2 separate regions of the Homo sapiens genome follow, and region 1 is linked to region 2. Evidence: promoter capture Hi-C in 16 types of primary human blood cells and fetal thymus (Javierre and others, 2016). All regions are on one chromosome and are shown on one strand. The core of a region is centred on a gene start or on the middle of the fragment in contact, and the rest is flanking DNA. Distances in the headings are between cores, read along the strand shown.

Evidence for each region. Contacts are between HindIII fragments. The CHiCAGO score rates a contact against its expected background, and 5 or more counts as called.
Region 1: a contact is called between a fragment that was not itself captured here and the fragment with the promoter of TRUB1 in region 2, in 1 of 17 cell types (fetal thymus). The highest score is 5.4, in fetal thymus.

The regions. Positions count from the first base shown.
Region 1 is chr10:114,300,829-114,306,001 of GRCh38, forward strand. It overlaps AFAP1L2 (actin filament associated protein 1 like 2), which reads right to left. Exons shown (of 19, transcript NM_001001936.3): 11 at 3,891-4,102; 12 at 1,511-1,656; 13 at 526-637. Among named protein-coding and RNA genes, the nearest start is that of VWA2, 64 kb to the left of the region's middle. RefSeq lists a silencer at 4,141-4,190. The HindIII fragment of the contact is 3,033 bases long and covers 862-3,894 here.
Region 2 is chr10:114,936,061-114,941,292 of GRCh38, forward strand. TRUB1 (TruB pseudouridine synthase family member 1) reads left to right here and starts at 2,135. Exons shown (of 8, transcript NM_139169.5): 1 at 2,135-2,479. The coding sequence starts at 2,194. RefSeq lists an enhancer at 1,967-2,506. The HindIII fragment of the contact is 6,581 bases long and covers 596-5,232 here.

The DNA.
Region 1 (5,173 bases), core at 1,128-3,627, 630 kb before region 2:
CTGGCTGAGTCCTAGATATGTCACTCGAGGTGGAAGACCCAGACAGAGCACTTAACTTCCCTGAACCTTATTTCCTCATCTGTAAAGAGGAAAAGAGCAGCATCTTCCCATAAGGTGGTTAGGATTCAAGGAGATCATCTGCAGGAGGTCCTCAGCTCAGCACAGGGTTCAGTGCCCAAAACGTGGAAGTTGCCATCGGTGTGATCATCCCACTCAACAACCGATTTGGACCTGGAAGCCTACTGGTACCTCCACTCCCAATCCCACCACCACACCCCTAGCCCTGACGAGAGGGGTTCACCGGTGTTTCATCTAGATAAGTCCCCAAGCCAAGCAAACTGCACAGCCTCACATATAGGAGACAGCCTTGTTGCACTTAGGTGTCTGCACTACTGGCCTGGTAGGTGACTCAGAACCCACTCATCTCATCTCAGGGATACTCTAATGATCTCTGGCATCCAGGTGTTGAGGTTGGTAGGAGGAGGGCCTGGAGAGGCCCAGGCCACTGCCTGGCCGGGTCCTTACCGCAGCTGTGAGCTCTGACAGGTCCACGTCGTCATACAGCTCCTCCTGGCGGTCCTGGCTAGGCAGGCCATCGATGTAAGTGTTGGGCTCTGAGAACTTTCTCTGCATCAGTCTGGAAACAGGGCGAGGTGGCACACATGAAGCAGCCGGGGCAGGGTGGTGAAAGCACCAGACTCCAAGGATTCCCAGTGAGGAGTGGTTGCCGTGAAAGTGGTGGCCACACAAGAGATCTGGGGGCTGACACTCACCTCCATGGATCTGAGGGCACCTCCTCCCTCTTTTCCCAGTGCCTTCTTCCTGAAATTCTTGGTTCGAGATTTTCCTCCCAGAAAGACAAGCTTCCCTTGCCCATACGCCTCGTCCTAGGATCCCTTTGCCATCTTCTCCCCCATTCCTCCCTTCTAGGATCTCCTTCCAGCAACCACAACAAAAAACCCCTTCTCATTTCATCTTCACAATACACTTGGGGTGGCGCAGGCCAGACACTATCCCCGTTTGGTCCATGAGAAAACTGATTCTGTTTCAGTGGCTCAGCCGGCTTCCACGAGACTGGCTCTACCACCCTGACCAGAGAACGCCCTCTCCCTCAGCCCTAGTTTGCTCATCTGGAAACAGAAGCACCACCCCCTGACCTGCTTTTCTCCAGGGTGTGCTGGAGACCCAGTGAGGGATTCACCAGAAGGACAAGTAGGAGGTCAGGAAAGGTGACAGCTCTGCCTGGAGGAGCTGGAGAGTCTAACTGCCTCTGAGGATGCCAAAGCTGCCCCCGGGGCCCGAAGCCTGGCTCGGCTCCTTGCTCTTAGCTCAGCTCCTGGCTCTTGGCCGGGCCTCCCTGAGGGCTACTCCTTGGCTTCACATTTTCCTGCTGCTGGGCAGAGTGGGGTGGGACCCTGTGCTCCCTGCTGCCCCTGACTCTGGCTGACCCAGGGCCTACAGCATGGCCAGGAATAAGAGAGTGTACGGAGGAAGGGTCCAAATTACTCACAAGAGAGAGTTTTTGGCCGCACTCACAATACAGGAGACCCTATCGGCATCCACATAGTCGTAGGTGAACTCTTCTGGGTCTGTCTTGGAGCCTGACTCAGAGAGCAGGAGACCCAGCCAGTGGCCCATTTCCTCGGAAGACTTGGCCTGGAACGAGGCCAAGAGAGACATAAGCAGGGCCAGGCAGTGCTGCCTGGTGCCAGCCCCTCCCCACCAGGCCATGACCGTACCCCTACCCCTGAGCCTGCCCACGAAAGCCTCTGTAACAGCCCGGGGCTGTGCTTCTCCTGTTCACCAGCCTATCCCACCCCCCAGTGGCCCCAGATAATATTTCCTGTCGTCAGTGACATCTTGATGCCACCTCAATAATGCTGTGGACTTTTGTCCCAAGGGCCATATGAGATGTATATACATTGTGTTTCTAGGAGGTGAAAACTTATCACCAGGTGGTCACTATTAAAAACTGTTAGTGACCACCTGTTAATTAATAGTTTTTAAAATGATTAAAAAATTGTATGTCTTTTAAGTTGACACTTGTATTTTATGAACAATGCATGTCATTCCCCCAATCCCATATACAACAAGACTTCCTGGATCCCCAAGAAATAACAACATTCAAATTTATTTTGTTCATGGCTTCAGTAAAGTCGGGACATCTTTTAAATACCTTACACTAGCTCAGCTGCTAAATCATCATCAAAATCCCAGTGAATTTGGTATTTTTTTTTCCAGGGGACAATGCATTCTAATCAAATGCATCCATTGGGTACCTCAATTAAAATGTCCACACTGTTTCTTACCTTTATAATGAGAAAAAACTGCCCATTTAATCAAAGCTATAGGTTTATTTTGATGAGGAAAATCAGCCCCCTTTGGTATAACCCATAGCTCCATCACGTTTGCTGCTACATTCTCTTCATCAAAGAGGCCGTGATGAGCAGAATTTGACATTTAGTTGGTTTCCTTTTCCCAGTTTTTTTTTATTTTAAAGACAGAATCTTGTTCTGTCGCCCAGGCTGGAGTGCAGCGGTGGGATCTTGGCTCACTGTAGCCTCTGCCTCCCGGCTTCAAGCAATTCTCCTGTGTCAGCCTCCCAAGTAGCTGGGACTACAGGCGCCCACCACCACACCCAGCTAATTTTTGTATTTTAGTAGAGACAGGGTTTCACCATGTTGGCCAGGCTGGTTTCAAACTCCTGACCTCGGGTGATCCACCTGCCTCAGCCTCCCAAAGTGCTGGGGTTACAGGCGTGGGCCATCATGCCCGGCCCCCACTTAGTTTCAACTGGATTCTAAATACAGCTTTTCATGGGCCTCCCCTAGTCCAGGCTGCGTCTCTGCCCTGGACAGCTGCGACAGCTTCCTAGCAGGTCCCTTCTTGCCCCCTCCGATCCACTCCCACCCCAGTAGCTGGAGGAAGCATCTCAAAACCCCGATCTGAGCTTGCCGCCCTCCCCTGAAAGCCATCAGGGCTCCGTTGCTCCTAGGATCAAGCCCTGTCCCTCCCGCTCCAGCCTGTCACCCAGACCCCAGTACAAGTCTATAGCACCCTCCCCACTTCTTTCCAGCCATTGTAGCCCAGCGATTGGCTGGGTAATTTGCTGAATAACATCACACTCCCAAACTAGGATGTAAGTGCCACAAGGACGGAGTCCATATTGCTCTTGTCCACCATATTCCTGTGCTGAGAAGATGTCTGTTGATGGGGAACCTCTGAATGGATGAATATAAGCTACAAGCTGGACCCTGGGAAGCAATTGCGATGTGGGTCTTTCAGCCACCAGAGGGCAGGATTGGAGCAAAGTTTGGATGAGGACCTCCACATCAAAGACTAAGTGAACGGACATTCACGGGCAAGTGTGTGCTTCCATGCGTGGAAGGGACTCGGTCTCCGCCTGCCGCAGCTTGCAAAGCGTTATGTCACTTCTTATTTTTGTAAACGTAACATCACATCAAAGGGAGGATGGGGAGCGAGAGGAATGTAATTGTATCACAAAGCGAATTTTTTCCCCCAGATAAGCTCTAACAGTGTGGTTTTTACGTACTGGGCCTAGAGGCTCTCCCAGCTGGTGATACCCAAACAAAACAACACCCACTTTGAATCCCCAGCAGCTTTTCCAGTAGCTCAGAGAACTAAAAATACTCCTTCTGCCCTAAGTGCAGGAAGTAGCGCATGGTTCCACTCTTATAACGCAACTACTCTGAGGTCAGAAAAGGAATGGAAATTTTTAAAAATGCAAACAATCTCAGGCAAACGAAGTAAAAATAACACGCGGGGACATTGATTCTCCCTTAGTAGCATTACAGTCCTGGAGACTGGCAGCAAACAGCCACCACCGCCACACCCTGGCTGGCCCTGCTCCCCCTGCAGGCCGGCGGTACCTCAAGCTTGGCCAGCTCCTCGCCCTTGTGGAGGATGCGGAAGGAGTAGAGGTGGTCGGGGCTGGGGTCTGGGACCACCTCGCAGCCCACCAGGCTGAGGGGTTGCTGGGCCACCTTGCTCCGGTTCCGGTCCTGGTAGAAGTGCAGGTGATTGTCCCTGACAGAGCACCAGCGAGACTTCCACTGGCTGTTCACCAGCACGTTCAGGTAACCTGCAGGAGGAAGTGCAGATGCAGGAGGGGACAGGGCTGCAGGAGGGGACGCAGATGCAGGAGGGGGCGGGGCTTCGGGAGGGCACACAGATGCAGGAGGGGGCGGGGCTGCGGGAGGGGAAGCGGATGCGGATGCAAGAGGGGACTGGGCTCCAGGAGGGGACGCAGATGCAGGAGGGGACCGGGCTGCAGGAGGGGACGCAGATGCAGGAGGGGACTGGGCTGCAGGAGGGGACTGGGCTGCAGGAGGGGACGCAGATGAAGGAGGGGGCGGGGCTGCGGGAGGGCATGCAGATAAAGGAGGGGGCGGGGCTGCGGGAGGAGACGTGGATGTGGGAGGGCACGCGGATGCAGGAGGGGATGCGGACGCAGGAGGGGACGGAGCTGCAGGAGGGGTCGCGGATGCAGGAGGGGACTGGGCTGCAGGAGGGAGCGGGGCTGCAGGAGAGAGCGGGGCTGCAGGAGGGGACGGCGCTGCAGAAGGAGATGCAGATGCAGGAGGGGACGCAGATGCAGGAGGGGACGCAGGTGCAGGAGGGGACGCAGATGCAGGAGGGGACGGGGCTGCAGGAGGAGATGCAGGAGGGGGTGCAGGTACAGGAGGGGTTGGGGCTGCAGGAGGGGACACAGATGCAGGAGGGGGCGCAGATGCAGGAGGCGACGGGGCTGCAGAAGGAGATGCAGATGCAGGAGGGGATGCAGATGCAGGAGGAGATGCAGATGCAGGAGGGGATGCAGGTGCAGGAGGGGACGGGGCTGCAGGAGGGAGCGGGGCTGGAGGGGACGGGGCTACAGGAGGAGATGCAGATGCAGGAGGGGGTGCACGTACAGGACTGGTCGGGGCTGCAGGAGGGGACGCAGATGCAGGAGGCGTCGGGGCTGCAGGAGGGGAGGCAGATCCAGGAGGGGACGCGGGTGCAGGAGGGGACGCGGGTGCAGGAGGGGGCGCAGGGGCAGGAGGGGACGCGGGTGCAGGAGGGGACACAGGTGCAGGAGGGGACGGGGCTGCAGGAGGAGATGCAGATGCAGGGGGGGTGCAGGTACAGGAGGGGTCGGGGCTGCAGGAGGGGA
Region 2 (5,232 bases), core at 885-3,384:
AGTTAGAATAAAAGGCCTGTTAGAAACAGGAAAGAGGAATAAAGACACAAGTGGGCCAGGCGTGATGGCTCGTGCCTGTAATCCCAGCACTTTGGGAGGCCGAGGCAGGCGGATCACCTGAGGTTGGGAGTTCATGACCAGCCTGACCAACATGGAGAAACCCCGTCCCTACTAAAAATACAAAATTAGCTGGGCATGGTGCCACATGCCTGTAATCCCACCTACTCAGGAGTCTGAGGCAGGAGAATCATTTGAACCCGGGAGGCGGAGGTTGCAGTGAGCTGAGATTGTGCCACTGCACTCCAGCCTGGGCAACAAGAGTGAAACTCTGTCTCAAAAAAAAAAAAAAAAAAAAAAAAGACACAAGTGAGTAGCATAAAAGAAGGATGTGCAGCTAGAGACAGAGAACTTTCTAGGTTCTGAATAGTGTGTCAGTGTATTTCTGATAAATCTTCTCCCCCTGTGCCCCCAAGCTGGTATGAATCAGTTTTCTGTTGACCAAAGAGCCCAAACTCATACATGTATTGGAGCAAAAAAAACCTGTGAATTCAAGGCCTGCCCAATGTGGGAGATGTTGATTACCTTAGAAAAACAAAGCTTGGTGCTTCTGATCCCAAGAATGCCGATATAATAGCAGAGTAGCATTAATTTTGTTGTGTCCTAGCATCCCAGAAATCAAACATGCAAGAAATATACATTTCTTCATTTTCTTTAAATCAGATTAACTCTGGTCCTACACTGGGCTGATGGAAAATTCAAATATAAGCATCATATGTTACCCCTAGTTCTGTTCTCCCTCTGCATCCCTCACCCCCAGAGCCACAAGAGAAATAGGGAGGCTTGCTGATGTCCGGACAATTGGGAAAAGGCCTCTAATCTCCAAGTGCCTTGGAGTCATCCAAGTCATCATTGATCAAGCCTTGCAACCTTCCCTGCAAGTCCCTGGCTCTCTGCTTCCATGGCACAAGAATAGAGAACTCTTTCCTGAGGCTAATGGACACCATGCTCCTTTGGGTGCAGTCATCCCTTCTGAAGTCACAACATCTTTGTGGAAAAATTAACATCTTGAAGCAGGGCCAGGTGTCCACTAATCCTGTGATATGCCAATCTTTTCAGTTAGCTTAGGCTTTTATAATAGACCACAAGAGTAAGTGACTTCCTTCTAGGAGTTTCAGCTTTCCACCCTGAAAAAACTCCCTCAAAGATTTTTTTTTCCTTTTAATAAATTGTTCTGCCATGTGTCTGTTGCACGAATGGGTGCAAGTTCAAATGGGACCCCATAACTGGTGATTGTGAGCAGCTAAGGGGCATCACTAAAATACTAGATATTAAAGTCCAAGAGTATGATGAGGACAAAGAGTGGTTGTAAAGAAACCTAAAAAACAATGAGGGCAAACTTTATCTGTCTCACAATAGTTATGATAGCATTTAATGTTTCTGGTGCAGAAGTAATTTTTCTCCACTCTGCCTTGTGCTGGAATCAAAACAATATTCCTCAATCTTGTTAGGGAGTGAATAACTTTTAGGGAGAAGGTCTCAAATGGGAAGTGGTTTAAAGTTTATGAATTGCAAGAATACCTTTTGATATCTAAACAAAGTGTACTAAGGAATTCAACCCACAGAAGAGCTGATATTCAAAATCAGAATTATTAAAAATTGTAGTGGGGTCAGTGGGGGTTTGGGGAGGGTGAACAGGAGTGCATGAAGAGCATCAAAATAAGCACAAGTGATTTACCATTGGCTTGGTTTCTTCGGGGAATTTGAAGAATTCATACTTATTTATACGTTTTCAAATATTTATTTAAGTGCCTACAACATGTGAGGCATTTGGGAATGTCTCAGTTAACGTGGTACATAAGTTCCTTGCTCTAATAGAGCTCACATTTGGATGTCTTCTAATTCTGAACCTGAATGTAAGAGCACAATACAATCAATGAAGCAGTGAGCCCAGGAAGCCATGGATCTTCACAAGCCTCAGGAAAAGTCAACATTTAAAATTTTCTATTTAAAGTCCAAGGGCACAGCAAGCTCTTGGTCTATATGGGAAGGCCATGGACTACAATTCCCACAAGTCCGTGCGACCTCTCCGTTCTGCGCAGCTTCGCGGTATGAGGAAGAGGGTCCTGTCAGGCGCACTCTTGTTGCATCATCAGCGTGCACCTCCACGATGAAACAGGTCTGGGCTACAAAAGTATGGCCGCTTCTGAGGCGGCGGTGGTGTCTTCGCCGTCTTTGAAAACAGACACATCCCCTGTCCTTGAAACTGCAGGAACGGTCGCAGCAATGGCTGCGACCCCGTCAGCAAGGGCTGCAGCCGCGGTGGTTGCGGCCGCGGCCAGGACCGGATCCGAAGCCAGGGTCTCCAAGGCCGCTTTGGCTACCAAGCTGCTGTCCTTGAGCGGCGTGTTCGCCGTGCACAAGCCCAAAGGGCCCACTTCAGCCGAGCTGCTGAATCGGTTGAAGGAGAAGCTGCTGGCAGGTACTGCAGCCCGGGTGGGGACCAGGCTGAGGCGGTCGCTGCGAGAGGGGAAGCACATTAGGCTTTTTGCGACGCTCGTGATTCAAGAGACAAAAGGAGGGGAAAGGGAGACTGACCATTGAATTAGCTCTGGACAGGAATCTCGGGCATCTCGGGCTTGGACTTGCCCTGGCACGAACTCTTGTAGCCTACTTGGCAGTTGTAGTTCTCAACGGGAGGAAAAAAATCCCGTACTTACACAATAAAACCCTGCCCTTGGGCGTGCAGACCTGTTTTCTGTAATCTGATCGATCCCTCAGGAGGCTTTTGTTGGGTTCATGTGGATGAACCCCAAAAGGAAGTACTGGTTCTGCACCCCTAAAGTTGCATTCCTCAAAATGTATTGGAAATGCAGATATACTTCGTTAACCAAGACTTAATATAGTCGTTTTCACATTTTAATGGGCCTAACAATTACTTAGAGTCTCTTGTACAAATACAGATTCCTAATCCCTGCCCTGTCCGAGATTGTGATTCGGAGAGTTCGGGGTATTTTTAGGAAACTGCAATTCTAAATAGTTGCTCCAGGTGATTCCAGTGTAAGTAGTTTATGGACCACATTTGAGGAACACTAAATATAACTTGGCCACTAAGCTGAGAGTGTTCATTTTATTGATTCGTTTATTCACGTACACTGGGAAAATAGTAGAAAAGCCTAGAGAATCACCCCGTTAATCAGCTCGGATGATTTCACACATAAAGCATCCAGGATCCTTAAGTTCATTGGACATATACAATAAGCCAGGTCTGTGCTAGCCTATAGAGACTTGAAGATGAAAGATAACTCTCTTACCTTAACTGAGCTGATAGCCTAGTAATTTCTGCACCTTGTGGTGGTAAAACTAGTTAGTTAGGTTATTCAAGGCCCTCCAGAGTTTGGCCGTATTCTGTCTCGCCATTAAACCAGTAACAGGGACTTTCTTACATTGTTTAGTGTCCCATGGAAAACTTTACACTTTAAAAAAATGCAAAAACAAATTATTCTGATGGGAATTATAACTGACAGTACAGATTTAAGTGTTTATGGGCAAATAGGTACACTCCTGCAGATGTTTAATTCCAGTATCACGACTACTTATTCTTTTATTAAAGTTTTGCTTTGTTGCCTGAAAGTATGGGTCATACAGAGGACGTCAAAGTGAGGAATTGCATCAAGGATATGTATTGTGGTATCATCATAGTTTTTTAGTTTTCCTTCATAGAACTGCTGCTTTCCTGATTTGTTAGCTAAACTCTGGGTTTCTTTTCTTTTTTTTTTTTTTTTATCCTTAAGGTAATGATTACCATTCTTTCAGACAAGTTTCTGACAAAGCCATATTCTGGCCTTCTGGCTAATCTGCCTCTAAGAACTGAAGTTTCTTGTTGAATCTTGGTTAAAATGTTTCAAGGCTCTTGCTAGGCTAGAACCTTTAGCTAGAGACATTCTCATTATCCTCGATTTCTATATTGCTTGTGATTGGCCTATTTTGTATTTATGTTAGTTAGGCTAGGGCTTTCCAAATGTCATTGTAATTGGCTGTCAGAATTGCTTGGGAAGTTTTTGTTTTTGTTTTTGTTTTTGAGATGGAGTTTCGCTGTTGTTGCCCAGGCTGGAGTGCAATGGCAAGATCTCGGCTCACTGCAACCTTCCCCTCCTGGGTTCAAGTGATTCTCCTGCCTCAGCCTCCCAAGTAGCTGGGATTACAGGCATGCACCACCATGCCCAGCTAATTTTGTATTTTTGGTAGAGACGGGGTTTCTCCATGTTGGTCAGGCTGGGCTCGAACTCCCGACCTCAGGTGATCTGCCCGCCTCAGCCTCCCAAAATGCTGGGATTACAGGCATGAGCCACCACTCCCGGCCTTGGGAAGGTTCTTAAAGATACCTACATTCTAATGCCATGTTTGACAACCATGATCAGTGGTTGTGTCCTCTAATACCATTCCTTGTCTTTCTTTGCATTGATTCCTATTATGCTACAATCTCTACTGTTTGTCTGTTGGGATCCTTCAAAGCCCTAAGTGTACCAGAATTTTATAGCTAGAAAATAATAAAAATCCACGAATACTTAGTTCAGTGGGGTGAACCAAATTCCCCACTTTATATAGTAGAGGCAGTACGTCTGCAAGTTAGAAGGAGGTATATTTGGGCACAAAGGGAAGATAGTATATTTATGGGGCCTTCTTACTCCAAGGGGTGTCAAGTTGAAAATGTAAAGAGTTCCCCAAAAGGTTTCTGTTAATTTATGAGTGAGAGATCCATGATGGATTGCAAGTGACAGATCAAGGGTTTGAAACTGAGGTCTGGCCTTAGAAGTTTATGTCAAAGCAGACAACCATACCCTTCTAAGTATGGTGATGTCATAATTAGGGAATGACGCCAGGGTGTTCCAGAGACCATGGTTCTGACTCAGTAGAGTGGTAATTTTGTTGGGAGGCCGAGCCACCCAGCATATCCTTTTGGCCATTTAATCTGGCTTCTGCATTTCCACTGTTGCTTTGTTTTCCCTCCTCCCTTCTCTGTCCACTCGTTTCGTTTTCTTTGCTTTATTTTCTTTCTGCTCAGTGTCAGTGTTGATAAGGAAGGTTTGATGGGCTTGGGGGCAGGTATAGATCAATGTAGCAGTTCCTGCTTTTCTCTTCTTTCTCACTTGAAGTCTAATAGCCAATACTCTCTCAGTATGTTATATGCCATCATCAAAAACAATTTATATTTATCCAGAAGGAAGCACTGGC